Regions from separate parts of the Homo sapiens genome. Here all the other regions are linked to region 1. Evidence: promoter capture Hi-C in 16 types of primary human blood cells and fetal thymus (Javierre and others, 2016). All regions are on one chromosome and are shown on one strand. Each heading gives the region's core, a stretch centred on a gene start or on the middle of the fragment in contact. The rest is flanking DNA. Distances are from core to core; before and after follow the strand shown. Region 1 holds the start of SNX13 (sorting nexin 13). Region 2 has its middle 140 kb from the start of HDAC9. Region 3 has its middle 160 kb from the start of HDAC9. Region 4 has its middle 180 kb from the start of MIR1302-6.

Region 1 (4,052 bases), core at 602-3,101:
CATAGGATTTTTAGGTTGCAGAAAAGACTCAGGCTGAGAAAATTAGGAAGCCATTGGAAGAGCGACTACTTTTGGTTTCCTTGTAAGTCTGTAGACAAACTTCTGAAAGTTAAAGGCATATTCATGTCATATCACAGATTGGTTCAATACTCAAGTGTCAACACTTAATGCCTTGCTTCTAGAAAAGATAAAAAGATGTAGTAAATAAAACTGAATACTCAAGCCAGACAACTACATTGCTGTTTTAATTTACTAGCTGGTATCTTAAATATTAATGAACCTCCTTCTCTGTTTTCTTATTTACAGGTTGGAACACTATCTTTTTCCAGGTTCCTTGTTGTCTCTAGTATCTCTTGGTATCCTTTGATACCTCAGTCCAGGTAGGATTTCCATGCTCATTTTCTATTTGTGGCTTCATCTGTCAATACCAGTAACACATTTTATTGTATTGCAGAGGTCAGAATTTTGCTGGTCCAGCAATGTGGAAATGATGTACAAAATGCAGATTAAAACAACAAGAAAAACTACTTTGCTTCAATTAGTTGAATTGAGCAAAATCAGTTTTTCTTGAATTTTTTGCATGACTGCTTAAATGAACCGTTTTGTTTCCTTGACACGATAGAGATAATACAAGGTTTGCAATGCCCTTATTGTTTTGAGACTGTAAGAGTAATACATTAAGTAAATTTCATTTAGCACAACAGTACTATTGTTAAATGGAGGGAAAAGATTCTGGTAAAAGGGAAGAAACTCCTGGCTTTAGTTTTCTAAAATGCTTTTGTACCTCTTGTAAGAATGACATGGAGGTGTTTTTAATGTCAAGTCTGAAAATTTGCTTTTCAATTTACTTGGAAACTGGTTTCTAATACAAAACAGGGTAGCACACTTTCCCAGCATGTTCAGGTAAACTACTTTCATCACAATTCAGGTAGAAGTGACTGCCTTTAATTCCGTACATCGCAAACCATCTAGTGGTAGATCTAGAATGGCGTCAGTCTCAGGGACTTCTATGCACATTGAGTTCCAGAGTTCAATTCCATTTAAGTTGGGACTATTTACAATGACATTTGCTGAAATTTGCTCACCTTGATATACAAGCATATTGTATTAAGCAGCTAGTAAACCTGTGGAGATAGCAGGTAAAACGTAAAGCCTGTTTTACGTTTTTTTAGAGGTGCATTACTTGTAGCATAACTAAACCTTCATTGTTAGGCAGGTGCTGGCCAATTACATCAGCAAGTCCTAACTCCGCTAGGATCGGGGTAAAGCCGATAAGCCGCATCATATCTACAACCTGTCTCGGACCCCTGTAAAGAACTCACTGAGGATTGGTAGGGACAAAGGGAAGTTTCTGTCAAAGTTTAGGAGAAAAGGGCCGCGCAGGGAGCTGTTTCAAATAACACTTAAATCCCAGGAGAAGAAAGCCGAACCCCAACTCTTCGGTCGCCGCGGGGCCAGGGAGACGCGAGAGGGAAGTTTTTCTAAAGGAAATCTGCCGCCTTGTCCCCAAGACCAGCGAGGTCCGCAGCGCCATCAGTCAAGTGTCGGCCTCTGGCATTTTCTCCTCTCCCCAGGGCGGGCCAACGCTAGTGGGCGGTGGATGATGCGCCGGCCCCAAGGGCGCGCACGTCCATTCCCGGAAGGCTCGGGCGCTGGGGCCCCTCTGCACTCCCAGCGGTCCCAAGTTGGCCCAGGCGCCCGGTCCCGGGGTCCTACAAGTCAGCGCCAAGCCGACTGCCGACAGCCTACCTCCGCTTCTCCGCGCGCCGGCGCTATGGAGACGGTCACGAGACGCCAGCAGCCCCTGCGCCCGCCAATGGGAACGCACGTTGCAGCGAGACGCGGACGTCGCTCTTCCAAGATGGCGGCGCGTCCGTCGCGAGCGACCGGGCCGAGGGGAGGCCAGCGAAGCCGAGTAAAACCGCCGCCCGGGAGAAGACTGAAGGAGCAGTTGCCGCCGTTGGCGGCGGCCCGAGCAGTTTTCGCTGCTGCTACGGCTGTTGCCATGAGGCGAGGCTAGGGAGGACCTCACTTCCCCGGGGTGTAATAATGTTAACTGAGGTAAGCGGCGACGGTGGCCAGTGTTTACCTGTGAAATGGGGAAGGGGCCGGCGCCAGCCCGTCAGAGAACATCATCTGTACGGAAGGTGGGCCTGACCCTTCGCCGTGGGCTCCAGGGCCCGAGGAGCAGCGGGGATCCTACAAGTGCCCTCAGAGTAGGAGCTGTGCTGACTCAACAGAGTCCCACCACCTCCGGCTGCCAGTGCCTCGCCTTTCGCAGTTGCCACTTGCCACTCGCCCCTGGCACTGGTCTCCCTCCTGCTGTCACTCCCTTCTAACTCATCGCTCCCTTCTTCGTGTCCCCTTACACGCTACTCTGTGGCAGCGTTGGCCTTTCCACGTTACTGCTGGTTCTTGTGATCCTATGGTTTGCCCTAGGTCTCCTTTCTCTGGTCCCTGGGCTCCAGGGCCCTCCGCCTCCGAGCTCGGTCAGCACCCTGGGGTTGTTGCTCGGCCCGACCGGTTTGTTTCCCACCCTCTACTTTGACTGCTTCATGAAGTGGACTTTTTTATCTCAAGCTGCACATGTATGGCTCAGTTGGGTCATCCCCCTCCCCCACATCCATCACCTTTTCGGTTAAATCGTGGTCATCACAAAGTTCAGTTTAGCATCTGCCACCTTGATTTGCGTGTGGCCCCCTTGTTACTCCCTATGGAATAGTTTTTTTCTTTGGACCTGAAATGGAAGTAGGGCAACTATGACGAACCAATCAATTTCCCTTTTCTAGTGCCTAATGGGCATTGCAAAAAGCCGACTTTTTGAAGAAGTAGAGTTTGCCTTTACTAGCAACACTTTAAGGGGAAGAACTAAATCGGTGCAACTAGGTACTTGACCCAGGTTAGCCCAGTTATGTGTTGTAGTATCTGCAGGTGTAGGTGTCACTGAACATAAAATACTGAACCTTGTGATTTGATGAAATACCTTTTTCGAAGCCTTTCACTTTAAGTACTGTGAGGATCCTGACGTGAGGAACTGACCGGATTGGGCATTTTTATGGGCTGAACTGAATAGGAAACAGTTTTAGTGGGCAATGGGAAGTATTCCTACATGGGCCAAAAAGGAAATACAAACATTTGTAGGTGAGTGGCTTTTATTTTGTGAAAAGTGATGGTAAAGCACGTACTTGCCTGAAATTTCAGGTCCTTGGAACGTGACTAACTTTGAGGAACTTTATACTTTGCTGTTTGTACTTAATCTAAGCACAGAGCCTGGCATATGATAAATACTTACTGGTTGATTGTAACTTCTACAGTACGTATTTTTAGTTGTTTGAAGTTCATTTTATATTTCTAAATTCTACAGATTTTTCATTCTTGGAGTTAATTGAGATTATGGTTATAGCATAAGTTTGTGTTGTGATTAGCAGTAATAGATTAGAAAAAAGAGTTATAAGTAGCAGAAGTTTCATTTTTACCTTAAGTGTGATATTTTAGTGGGAACAGTTAGCCTTATAATAAGTGTTTAGTGTTGTCTCTAATGTGTAATATTATATGATATGATCTTTTCCTTAAACTTAGCTTATGTTAACATGTTTCAGAGTTTTAATACTTTCAAATGAACTACTTGTGTGTCTGCCAGTAAAATGATTTGGAAAGATGGAGCTTTCTCAGCTTCTGTATTTTAATGCAATTTTGCGTTTTAGGGAAATATTTTAAACAGTAAATCAATGATAATATTAAGTAAACTGTACTTTAGTACTTTTTGTGTGAACACTGCACAACTTATAAGTGGCAGAAGCAGGATTCCAACCTTGGCAGTTGCCACCTAGCCCATTCTGTTAACTTTTCTAGATTGCCTCGCCAAAGTAAGACCCAGATTAAATTGTACTAAAGTCTTCCCTATAGTTTTCAGTAGTCGTTTATAGATTAGGAAACTGAAGCCAGAGACTCTTGTCCAAGGTCAATTATTAAATATTAGTGACAGTCGAAACTGGAATCTCATCTCCTAACTCTCAGTAGAGAGCTCTGACCGTTTTGCTCAGCTGCCTCTC
Region 2 (4,052 bases), core at 931-3,430, 410 kb before region 1:
TTACCTCATAGAGGATTCATTTGCACTCAGGGAATAAAAAGGTTGCCACAGTAGCTTCAGGATCACTCAGCAGCAAGAATCGGCATTAATAACTATCCTCAGAGGCACAGAGGGAGGGAAGAAAGTCATTTACTTAACATTCTTTAATTCTTTGTGGTATAACAAGACTATGTCATGATTTAGAGCTAAAAAGCACAGTTGTTTTGCTCACGAGAAAAGTCTTTCATAACCTACACAGTTTTTGTGACACATGGAGTTATGAGATCTTAGGCTACCTTTAAATACGGTATCCCCCTGCTGAAAGCTCTCAAACAGCTTGCAGAGGAAAAAAAAAAATCCCAATATTACTTTACTCCTGAGACATCAAATATCCCATGTCTTACTTTATAAAGAAGTTTCTTTGTACAATAGCTAGATAGTGCTGAAGAAAATAACTTTTGTATGCCTGTATCATAACACAGGGTCATGTATAGCTAATTAAGCATTCTTCCTTAGGTTTGATTACATAAAGAGTTGGTTTTGTAATACAATAGCACATGAAGGTCAGTATGGTTATGAGAGAAACCTTAGATGCTATGACAAATCCAATAACTAGCAGGGTATTTGTTCATAAAAGTAAAGCATTTCTCAAAATATTTTGCTGATTTGTTAAGGTACTGGAAGATATTTTGCTGGCCGCCGAGCTGACCTTCTGCAACACCCTATATGGTGAGGCTGTTAAAAGATTTTCTTAGAAGATACAGATTTGTATTTTAGAGTAAGACAGAGACAAAAACAAGGATCATGAAATGGAGGTTCACAAGTATCTGAACCAAAGTGGGGAAAAGGGGGGAAAAAAACAAACATCAGCCAGCTCCTTATTTGCACACCGAGATTCACTAACTCTATATGGTAAGTCCTATTTCCCGTCATTTTCCCTGAATCTAGCATGCTAACCATCATAACGAAAAAGAGTTTGTTTTCACCTTTACGTTCCCTTTGAGTATTTAAAACGGGGAATGACTCACATCTCACAAGGCCAAGAATCTTTGAAATGAACTTCTGGAAAATTTAAAGGTACCTGGAGCTCCTGCAACAAATATAAGACTGCACTGCCCTCCAGAGGTGACTCCCTGGCAATTACCTTTAATCAATTAATGATAGGAGGACCAAGTAACTGTGTTGCAGTAATCTTCATTGCAATTTTAGTCCTTCTATCTCAAATAGTTTTCAAAACACAGGACTAAAAATCAGTGGCAACCTACTGTTTCCCTCTAAGCAGAATATTATATTGTCTCAGCTCTTCTATCTTACTTCATTTTGTTTGAAAATAATATTTGCTACCTCTTTGGCTAAATGTTAAATATTAATATTTTTGGTTGGAGGGCCTATTTATTCATGTACATTTTTCAGAAAAATCAGATTAAACAGACAGCCTAAGGAAACCTTAAGAAACCTGAGGATCCTCAGAGATAACTGAAGGTCACACAAAGAACAGTTCAGAAACAGAATATTTTACTGTCTAATTATGTTGTCATCACTTAACTGAAGCTTGAAGGGTGCCCACAGTTATTGTGAGAAAAATATAAACTCATTTTGAATTTTTTTCTTCTTGAGCTTTTGTTCTCCACAGCTATGTGATCTAGTTCTGTTCTGTTCCACACACACCTTCCAATAGTGGATAACCTTGTATATTGTCACTTTCCACATATTCACCGTCAATTCAAATTTTTTGAGATTTAAGACAAGGCTAATAATTTCTTGATAAAATTGTAATAACCTGTGTGTGTGCCTGTATGAATGACTCAAAACACATCTTTTAAAAGTTCTTGACAAAATTAAACATTATCTACACAGCAAATATTTATGTAGGGCTTTGCAAATGCTAACTCATTTAATAATCACAACAGCTATGCAACAGATAGTTTTACTATCATTCACCTTTTTTTACAGATGAGGCAGATTTTGAGAGATTAACAAAATCACAGAGCTGGGACATGATAGAGCTGAGATTCAACTTCAGTTTAGCTTCAGCGTCCTGGTTCCTAACTTCCTCACTTTGCTTTACATGGTCATTTAAATATATATATCTTCCCTCCCATTATAAAAAGCATTAATAAGATTTAAAATAAAGTTGATACTTTTAATATAGCTGTCTTTTTTTGTTTTGGGGGATTTTTGTTTTATTTTACAATTCATAACACATAGGAAACTTAAAAAATATTAAAACTCTGGGAGATCAAAATGTTGGAAGACAGAATGAAATTGGAAAACAAATTTTTTGTGTGATTACTGCAAATTTTACCAAGTCATTAATCTTTAAGGGGAAAAATATTGAAGCAACATGGAAAAATGTTAACTATCTTACAACGATAAATAAAAATTATATAAGTAAATCAGGCAATGATGTATTAAAGTCAGTATTACATTTTATCTTGTAAATATCAAGCAACTGTTTAGTGTTTTTGAAATAAATCATTGTGATTATGTTTAACGCAATAAAAAATAAAGCAGAAAAAACTATTTACAGCCGACTACTAAATTCATGAAGGAAAAAAAGGAGTTAAGAGGAGACTTTGATTCAATCACAGAGGCTCCGTCACAGACCTACAGTCATTTAACTTAGGCAGGGGTTATAAAATGTATTTCAGGTTGCACTTACAAAACAATGTTCTTGCACCAAGCACGGGTCGACCAGCTACCCAGCGGCTGGGTTCAGAAACTAGAAGGCCCCTGGGAAAGCAGCTCAGTAACTACAAAGCAAATGTGGTCAATGCCCAGTGTCGTTATGGGGATTAGACAGGGGTCACAGCTTCACGGCAGCACCTGCACAGCTATGACATAAGCTTATATTCGACATAAATCATATTCCCTCTGTTTTGAAAGCAAATAATAAAAGAGTTGTTCCATGTCTCTTGACCTTTATTTCTGGGAAAAGTGGATTTTTCCCTTACAGCTATGGAATGTACTAACCATTCCCAGTGGGACAGACTTAGAAACCCCGTCATAGAACAAATGTATAAATATCCACCTTCTCACTTCCAAAGTGATTTGCATCTTACACATCAGTAAAGTATTACTATTTTCTAAAGTAGCTTAAAATAAGGAGAGAAGGGAGAGTGAGAAGGAAGAAAACACACAAAGAGGATACCTGAAAGAGGAAATTAAAATACTTGTATTGATGAAGATACGTGATTGACCAGCTGGTGATAAAGAGAAATTAGATGAGTATTGTCACTGACAGTTGCTAAATGTTGTTTTGCACAAATGCCAGTAAACCTGGTACACAATTAGCTCCTGAATCCATTTTTTTCATGGAATCCAATTACTCAAAATTACTGCCTCCAAAAAGAAAAATTGCTTTTCAAAACTTGGCATTAACATTACTTGAGAGTCAATGAAATGATGTTTTCAGATCTTGAATTTTTAAAATAAATTCTAATTTATTAAAGACTAATGACTTTTGAACCACTGAGTTATACACAGGTACAATAATTCTGAATACCCACAAATACAACTTGAAATAAAGGCAAACTTCAAAATAAAAGATAATAACAAGAGGGAGAAAAAACCTGGAAAACCTATTGAATTAGCATTACCATGCTTATATACTACTATTAATAATAATGAATGATGGCCAGAACTGGCACAAACGAAGTATTCTGTCAGCAAGTAGAAGACCTCCTAATACTGAAGTAATACCTAATTCTCACATATGTTCCAAAGCCCTAATTTCCAAAGCAAAGAACAACTGAAATATACTAAGTATTAATATTGAATAGCCACTTCATTATTTGAGTAAGGGATCTTTCCAAAAACCTTTTATTCTAAATATTCTACATAGAAAGACATATTTTTTCTGCATAGTGCTATTCCTGTTGGCGTGAAAAGTAAAACACAACACCACATTTTTTTTTTTGTCAGGAACTTTGTTTAGAAAAGTATACTTAACAAAGACAATATTAGGGTAACCACCAAGATATCACATATGAAGTTCTAATGCTGTGAAAATTATAAAATTACTAACATAAAGAATATCAGATATGTCCCCCAATTCAATGTTTGAGAATCAA
Region 3 (4,052 bases), core at 817-3,316, 390 kb before region 1:
TGTTTGTTGTTTCATAGTGAAATTATTTAATACTAATATATTTGCCATGAGAACAGCTTTGGCTGCACCTCATAAGGTGCACCATTTTGTTTATTCCCTTAATGGTGTTACTATTTTCTAAATAACCTATGATTGCAAGTGTTTTAAAAACACATTTCATGGTGTGTATTTGAGGTTTATATCCTGATGACATGGGATATAGAGAGATAGTAAAATGGCTATATAGTGAAGCAGATGAACATAGCTATCATCTCACATAGTTACTATTTGTGTGTGACAAGAGCAGCTAAAATCTACTTAACAAAAATCCCTAATACTGTACAATTTTATTAACTTTAATCCTCATGTTGTACATGAGATCTCTTAATTAGTAATCCAACACATGTGCTATTTTGTATTCTTTGGCCTAAATCTCCCCATTTCCTCTCTCCAACTTCACCCCATCCAATGGTAAAGACTGTTTTAACATTCTCTATTTCTATCTCTAGTTGAGCTCTGTTTAAAAACTGCCTCTGACTCAGTAGTTTTTAATGGCTTGTTCCTTCCAAATCGTTGTTTATTTTGTATTACTGTTTTTTCTTACTAATTTCTGCTTTATTACATTGTGATCAGAGAATACAGTATAAAGAGTATCTTTTGGCACACAAATTAATACCTAACAATATCAGCAACTATATTTGGCATGACATAAACATAAATTTTGGCATAAAATAAATTAAGGCTTTTCAGACTTTAGTAAATACTCTGAGAAGGGATCCTTGTGTAAATTTATTTCCTCACAGTAGAATATTTCTGTCAAAGATTCCTGCACTTCTGAAATTAAGCCAGGTTTCTGCTTCTCCAGTGCCGTAAGGTGTATGTTGATTTCTCAGCCCCTAACAAAACTATTAGCTCACAGTCTACTGAACATGAAAAAAGATTACATCCTCTATCTTCAACACAAAAAGATAGGCCAAATTGAGATGTAGTATTTTTCAACTATTTAAATAATCACCATCTTGAATTTCTGGAAAGTATTTTAGAAATGCATTAATTGAAATCCACAGCAGCTCAACGGCTTGACTGCCATTCCACACCTAATATAGAGGAGCCAGGTGCAAAACATTTTTTTTAATCCCTGTGCCATAGCTCCCTTCCAATGCATCCCCTCTTTTATTGGACCAATTACGGAATATACTCAATTTTAAGTATTTTTAATTTATTTGGTTAGAAAAGCTACATGCAAGAAGAAAAGCAACAGTCAAGCTTAAGTGATGAGAATTTTTTAAAGTAAAAATCTCTCTCTCTCTCTCTCTCACACACACACACACACACACACACACACACATGTGCGCATGCACAGCCACAATTCACAGACACTTGGAAAAACTAAAAAATGGTCTTTGAGGTGGAATGAGGAAGGCTCTTAGGGGAACTCTGGCTAAACAGACCAGTTTATAATATTTACTTCTCAACCTTACCTTATTTCTACCAGAATATTTTGGTTGTTAGTTTGAAAATCTCTAAATGAAAAAATAATCAGGGAAATTATTAAGTATCTGTGTGTGAATTACTCACTCTGTTAGAAAGAACTTTTATTCGAACTCCAAAGAAAATAGATGGCACTGTTTTAAGCAAATTTAAACATCTGAATGACGGGCAAAGGCCATGAAAAGTATATTGTGCTTGACAGAAGTCCAGTATCTGTGTTCCAGTCCTGGCTCTGGAACCTGAGCATCTAACTCAATACTTCTCTAGGCCTCCTTTTCCTAAGAGGCTCCGCACATGTGATCACCACTGTGCCACTGAACTCAAATTTTGTGAACCTGAGTTTGGAGGTGATATTGTTTATTATTTCAAGCAATCTCTATTGAGGATCTACCAAGTGCCAGACAAAAATGCTATGATATAGAATATAGCATTTAAAAGGACAGTTCTAGTCCCTCTCTCCAACAAACTTGTAGCAGTCCACTACTTCATCACCTCGAATAAGGTAGGTAGTATACTTAAGATAATCATTATTCTAATATATTTTTCCTGTGTACACAATAGACATTTTGTACTTCTTTTTTTAAAATTTTTTTATTATACTTTAAGTTCTGGGATACATTTTGAACTTCTTTGGGAGTAACTTGAGGTTGATGAAAACAAAAACAAGAAAAGTTAAACATTTCTGTTACATTCTGCAAGCGATACTACAGGGTCAAAAAGTTACATTTTACTACACAACTAATAAAAGGTAGTGCTATATTCCTCAGCTACATTTTTGTCTGATATTATTAGAGCTATTCTAATTTTAACTGAAAATATGTATTTCCTGAAAATATGTTAACTGAACACATCTTTTCTTTTCATTAAAAAACACGATTTTTCATTATGCCATATCAGAGATTAATAACAAAAGTAAAAGATAATTAGGCAAAGGCAAAGACATTTAAAATAAATGAAATTCACAAATGTATTACATGCCTGATTGGCTAAAATTAAACAACTAATCTGAATATGACTGATGGGAATGATGCTGAAGGAACAATTAAAACAAAAGCTAAGAGGCTCTGCACATGTGATCACTTCAAGTTAGGTGTCTTGTTATTTTCCATTTACCTCTTGATAGTTGTACCTATCAAATGCAAAACCTATGATCAGTTTCCCATCTCTGTTTATGGTTGTGATAACAGAGAAACCAGTTATTAATTGGTCAACTCAAATTGTATTCATGTATTACTGTATGTCTGTGTAATCCTCCTTGATCTAAAATTTCCCTGATTCTCCTCAGGGTTATTTGCCTTGTGTTAGTAAAACCAGGATGCCACAATGCTAAACTTACTGTTCTGCCATTTGTTTCAGATTATTCTTCCTACATGCTCCAATTTGCATAACTTTATTGTTTTGTAGATTCTAAGCTTGTGAATTTATTACCAAGGCACCTGCCAGTGTTACTGTATTTAAGGAACTGTCAGCAGTTTCTATTTTGGGGTTCTAAGTTGGCTACAAAAATTCACTCTGGGATAAATTTTGGCATGTGTTATAAGGTAACAAACCAAAAGTGACTTATTTTTAGAAAACAGGGAGGGAGTAGAGGGGAAATAGTTTTTGGTTGTTTTTTTTTTCCCTCCTGAGGTATAGAAATATAAAATCAAAAACAGAAGTTGGTGGTTTCAGAAGTATTCTAAGAGATTAATTCTCTTTGGTTTTTCTGAAGTTAATATCTTTTCAACCCATTAGTCAACATTACAGACTAATGCTTTGGGGGACTGTGACAAAATATTAAAAATATCTGTTCTATTTACAGACAAGGTATCTTGTATGTCCATTAATTTTAATAGTGGAATAGCAGTTTTAGGAGAAAAATATAATCCATTTAGTGAAAACTAAATGTGAACTAACAAGTTTCAGATTTCCGGCAAATATCTAAGTGTCTGAAATACCACCCCAAGTGTCCCCACACCACACATCTACTCACTATTATCACAGAGCTTCACTAAAGTGTGAAGAATTACAGATGCCCTGGGTTTCATTTAGTTTTGAACCTATGTCTCTGAAAAGAATCTTCACAATCTAAATCTTCATTTGGCAAGCAGAAAAGATTGATAAGTATAACTAGAACATCTGCAAAATAATATAATCAGAAAATTTTTATTTTCCCAAAGCATCAAGGTATGAGAGGTGGGTATCATACCTTCCCATTATTCTCACACACGGAACACACACACACACACACACACATACACACAAGCCTTAGAATGCAGCAATAAAATAGACCCAAAGTACCTTAGAAGTAAAATATACACTATTCCCAAAGCAAAACTAGTAAGAATGTTGTGGCTAGCTAAACGGTAGTTAAACATTTCTTCAGTACTTCTGGGGGCCAGGCACTAAGCTAGAGAGCTGGGTTAGTAAGCCTACATAAAATGCATAAAAGGCAGCAAGGAGAGTGTAATGTGAAATGGAGGAAAGAAACAGAAGGCTTCAAAAGACATAATCTGGATCCAAGTGCCATCAACAGGAATTATACTCTGGCCCATGTTCTTGAGCAATCTGATCCCCTGACAGGCACATCACTTTTGTGAATC
Region 4 (4,052 bases), core at 578-3,077, 370 kb before region 1:
TGTACCTTGGGCTGAACATTTCATTGTCCTTGAAATGATTTATTTCAACTCCTCCCAAACGCCATAGAACAAGCTCAGCTTTACAATACTTCTGGTCAAAGTCTCAGTAAACTCACAATTATGCATTGAAATGTGGGTAATATGGATTGACTTAGAGATCTCCACAAACACAAGCAGATAATTTGCATATATTCTCCAAAGGAATTGGAGTTGACACGAATTCTCCTCTCACCAGCCATGTGACTTTGTTCAGGTTCCCTGGTGTTTCTGGACCTGTTTCTACATCTATGCACACAGGTAAAGCCTGCATCATAAAGTGGATCTGAAGAAGGGATCATTCAACAAACCCTATCTTCCTGTCTTAGTATTTACCCATAAAAACTCATACGAATCCCCAGAATTTGAGTTTAAATTAGAGAACAGCAAGAATAAGAGAAAATATAATGGCTAACATCTTTTCATATCCTACAGATATATATACACACGTACACACATATATATATATGTAACTTATATCCTTGCTTAATATAGTTTCCACTTCTTTTTGTTATAAATCTGACACAAGAAAAAGATTAATAGAACATTCTTTCCAGGTCAGACACACCTAATATATTTTTCTCCATGAAGTAGCACATCTTCAATCACCTACTGAGTACACCAAAACTTTTATATATCTTTAAGAAATGTAAAATCCAATACCACGTACTAAATGCAGATTAAATATCATTTTGAAAGGGAGTATGGTATATTTACAGCAAATGATGATTAGGCTATGAAGTGCCCAAAGCTTAAATAATTACAGATCAGAGTTCGAGTGTACCTTTTCCTCAAAAGAAAAGTTCTTTTCTTGTATATGGTTAAGCAAATTTATATAACTATGAAAGAAACAAGGCTACAACAGTGATTTATTTTCTTCTGATGTTTAAAAGTATTCTACGTAGGCTTGGTTTTGCAAATTTCACATTTTAATTAACCTAGTTCATATAGATTGCTAAAACCAACTTCGTAAATTGGATGAAGTCTTTAACAATCAACATCAGTCAGTGACACTATTAAAATGTTTAAGCTACTTGGCAATATAAATTAAGGCAAAGTTCTTAAAATTACATTTGAGTTTGAAAACATGTATTTTTATATTTGTAACACTTTCATATACATGTATATTTGTAGGTATCAGAAATGGTTTTTCTTCTAGAACTTTTTGAAAAGCTTCCAAGTATTTTCATTTCCTGGAAAGTATATCTAGTCAGATGGAGAACCATTGGTGCATATATTCCACACCCTGACCTTTGGTGTTAGTGACATCGGCTGTTTTGTTAATGTGTGATAATTGTTTTTAAAATATTACTATGACTTTAATAATAATTACGATTTTTTTCAATTTTACAATTTAAAAAAAATTTGGGACAGAGTCTCACTCTGTCACCCAGGCTGGAGTGCAGCGGCACAATTTTGGCTCACTGCAACCTCTGCCTCCTGGGCTCAAGGGATTCTCCTGTCTCAGCCTCCCGAGTAGCTGGGGCTACATGTATGTACCACCATACCTGGCTAATTTTTGTATTTTTAATAGAGGCAGGGTTTCACCATGTTGGTCAGCCTGGCCCACAACTCCTGACCTCAGGTGATCTGCCCGCCTCACACTCCCAAAGTGCTGGGAATGCAAGCGTGAGCCATGGCACCAGGCAATAATTTTGATTTTATAATGTTAGAAACTAGTTTTAGAATCTAAGAAAGAGCAAGCACTTTATTTGTGAAAATGACATGGTAACAAGAACTTTGGGGGAAATGAATTTTTTTATAATGGTCTTGAACAATTACCATTATTTTCACAAAATTCAATGTGTTCAAGATGATTCTCATATTCAGAACCTTTCTAATACACGTCAGAACTTTCATTTATGTGCCCTCCCTTTGTACTCATGGATTAACAGGTATAAATGTTCATGGTTGTTGAGGTGTCAATTACTTGCCCACGGACTCAAAGCTCATAAATGAGGAAGCCAGGATTTGAACTTGAGAGGTATGGCTTTAAAAAAGATACTCTTGCCTCCTCCTATACAAACACACACACACACACACACACACACACACACACACACACACACACAAGAACTGCCCTCCTGTAGCTGAAGGGCCAAGATATAAACACACAATAAATTTAATAACATAAGAAAAAATTAACTTCACATTAATAGATAGAATACATGTCACAATGTTAACTGTGGAATGAGGTCCACGAGAGAAGTGAGATCTCAGCCTGCTGGCTCAGATGACCAGGGGAGATGGCTGCATGAGGGAGTTTGGAAACAGACATGGAGAATGGAAAGAATTTAAGTAAGTGGGGGGTGTTTCGCAAATCCAAAATAGCACAAGCAAAAAGGAGTGTGAGTAAATAAGTCTGGTTGGAGTGAAGAATTTATATTCAGCAATATTGATGAAGCTTGAAAAACAGTTGAAATAACTGTAGAAATCTTAAAGTCTGAGGAGTTAAGACTTAATCCTGCCAGCATGAATATCCATCCAAAGATCGTAAGCAAGAAAATGCCTGGATCAAAAGGCGTTGAAGAAAAGTAATTACCAGCAGCACGAATAGCACCACTTGGAGAGAGACCAAAAGTATGTGTAGAAGGCTTCAGAATCTATTGGTCAATTCCAAACTACCCCTATATTACTCAGTCTTAATTAAACTTAGATTACTATCATCTTTTCTTTCCTACAAAGGCTGCTACTTCAAAACCATGTAAACATATTTCTGGAGCATGGGTAAAACTCAGATTTACTTCTGAAAACACATCATAGCAGATGCTATCAACAGTCCACCCATATCTCCTTGCTTTTGCGACTGCAGTACACACTGGCCAGACATTGACTTCTAACTGTAACGATTGGATGTATTTTTCAGTGGCCAGAAGTGCTGAGGAATTAACATCCCCACCCATAGTCTGAGTCCTACCCACAGCAGCCCCCAACTAATAACGATGTTCAGGAGTTGGTATTGAAATACCCCAGCTCCTCACCCTGTGTGCCTGTTGTACAGAGATTTCCAGAGTTCCCCAGCAGAATTAAGCTTTAGTTACCTAGCACACCAACTTACTTGATAACATATTGTTTTTTGGCTGCCTTCCATTCCCTGCCTCATTTCCCCTATTGGAGTTTCCTGGGATCTCCTCCCAAATAAACAACTTACACTTCATTCCATGTCTCAGGACTGGGGAGTGAATTGCTGAGGGCGGGAATAAATTCAAACTAAAATACATCTTGGTGTTCTAGCTCACTCATCTTGGCTCAGGTTACCTTCCTCGTTCCAGTTAGTCCCTCAAAACCTGGGAAGTACTTCCCTTCACCAACCCATTCCAAGTTCACCTTATCAGCCCAGGCCACTGTACCAAGTTCCTTTCCTAAACCCTTAAGCAATTACTGCCTGCACTCTTTACTCACTCTATATTACATGGTGTGCTATGCATATGTCTTGTCTTCTCATCTATTAGACCCCTGCCCAGAGATCAGAAACTTTGTTTCTTTGTGTGCTCTACAAGGGTACAACAGAACTATGTGTCATTCAAACAGTTCTAGATTACTACTTCTCTGGTTGACTTACAGACCAGAAAACCTGATGATAAAAGGGGAGTCATGCTTTATTTAGCTTTGAGTTATGTTTCTTTGGACACATATGGGTTGGTACAGTGGAAGAAGGTGAAAGGACCAGCAAATGTGAATGTGGATTTCTAGCTTCAGTGGAAGCAAACTATTCCAGAACATGTTTTCATTTTCCTTTTTCAGAATTAGTCGAGAAAGTGGGGAAACTAACAATATTTCTTTTTCTTTTACTCAAACCTAATATTATTCATGTATTTTCATATTTGATGACTGTTTATTGAGAACCTGCTATGTGTCAGGCACCGGCCTAGGATATCTACATGCACTGGTTGGTGGAGGGTATACGATTTTTGCTATTGTGGCACTTATCATCAAGAGTGAAGATGGAAAAAGATACACAGTGTGCCAGTAAAAACAAACACAAACATTACAATTATAAAAAGTGGGCTATGGAG

What was found. The method cuts DNA at HindIII sites, captures the fragments that hold promoters and counts their contacts. A CHiCAGO score of 5 or more calls a contact.
Region 2: a contact is called between a fragment that was not itself captured here and the fragment with the promoter of SNX13 in region 1, in 1 of 17 cell types (neutrophils). The highest score is 14.7, in neutrophils.
Region 3: a contact is called between a fragment that was not itself captured here and the fragment with the promoter of SNX13 in region 1, in 1 of 17 cell types (neutrophils). The highest score is 6.6, in neutrophils.
Region 4: a contact is called between a fragment that was not itself captured here and the fragment with the promoter of SNX13 in region 1, in 1 of 17 cell types (neutrophils). The highest score is 9.4, in neutrophils.

The regions. Positions count from the first base shown.
Region 1 is chr7:17,938,293-17,942,344 of GRCh38, reverse strand. It overlaps SNX13 (sorting nexin 13), which reads left to right and starts at 1,851. Exons shown (of 26, transcript NM_015132.5): 1 at 1,851-2,061. The coding sequence starts at 2,050. The HindIII fragment of the contact is 12,825 bases long and covers 1-4,052 here.
Region 2 is chr7:18,349,553-18,353,604 of GRCh38, reverse strand. It overlaps a transcript of HDAC9 not described here. Among named protein-coding and RNA genes, the nearest start is that of HDAC9, 140 kb to the left of the region's middle. The HindIII fragment of the contact is 1,295 bases long and covers 1,533-2,827 here.
Region 3 is chr7:18,329,637-18,333,688 of GRCh38, reverse strand. It overlaps a transcript of HDAC9 not described here. Among named protein-coding and RNA genes, the nearest start is that of HDAC9, 160 kb to the left of the region's middle. The HindIII fragment of the contact is 1,637 bases long and covers 1,248-2,884 here.
Region 4 is chr7:18,305,154-18,309,205 of GRCh38, reverse strand. It overlaps a transcript of HDAC9 not described here. Among named protein-coding and RNA genes, the nearest start is that of MIR1302-6, 180 kb to the right of the region's middle. The HindIII fragment of the contact is 1,231 bases long and covers 1,212-2,442 here.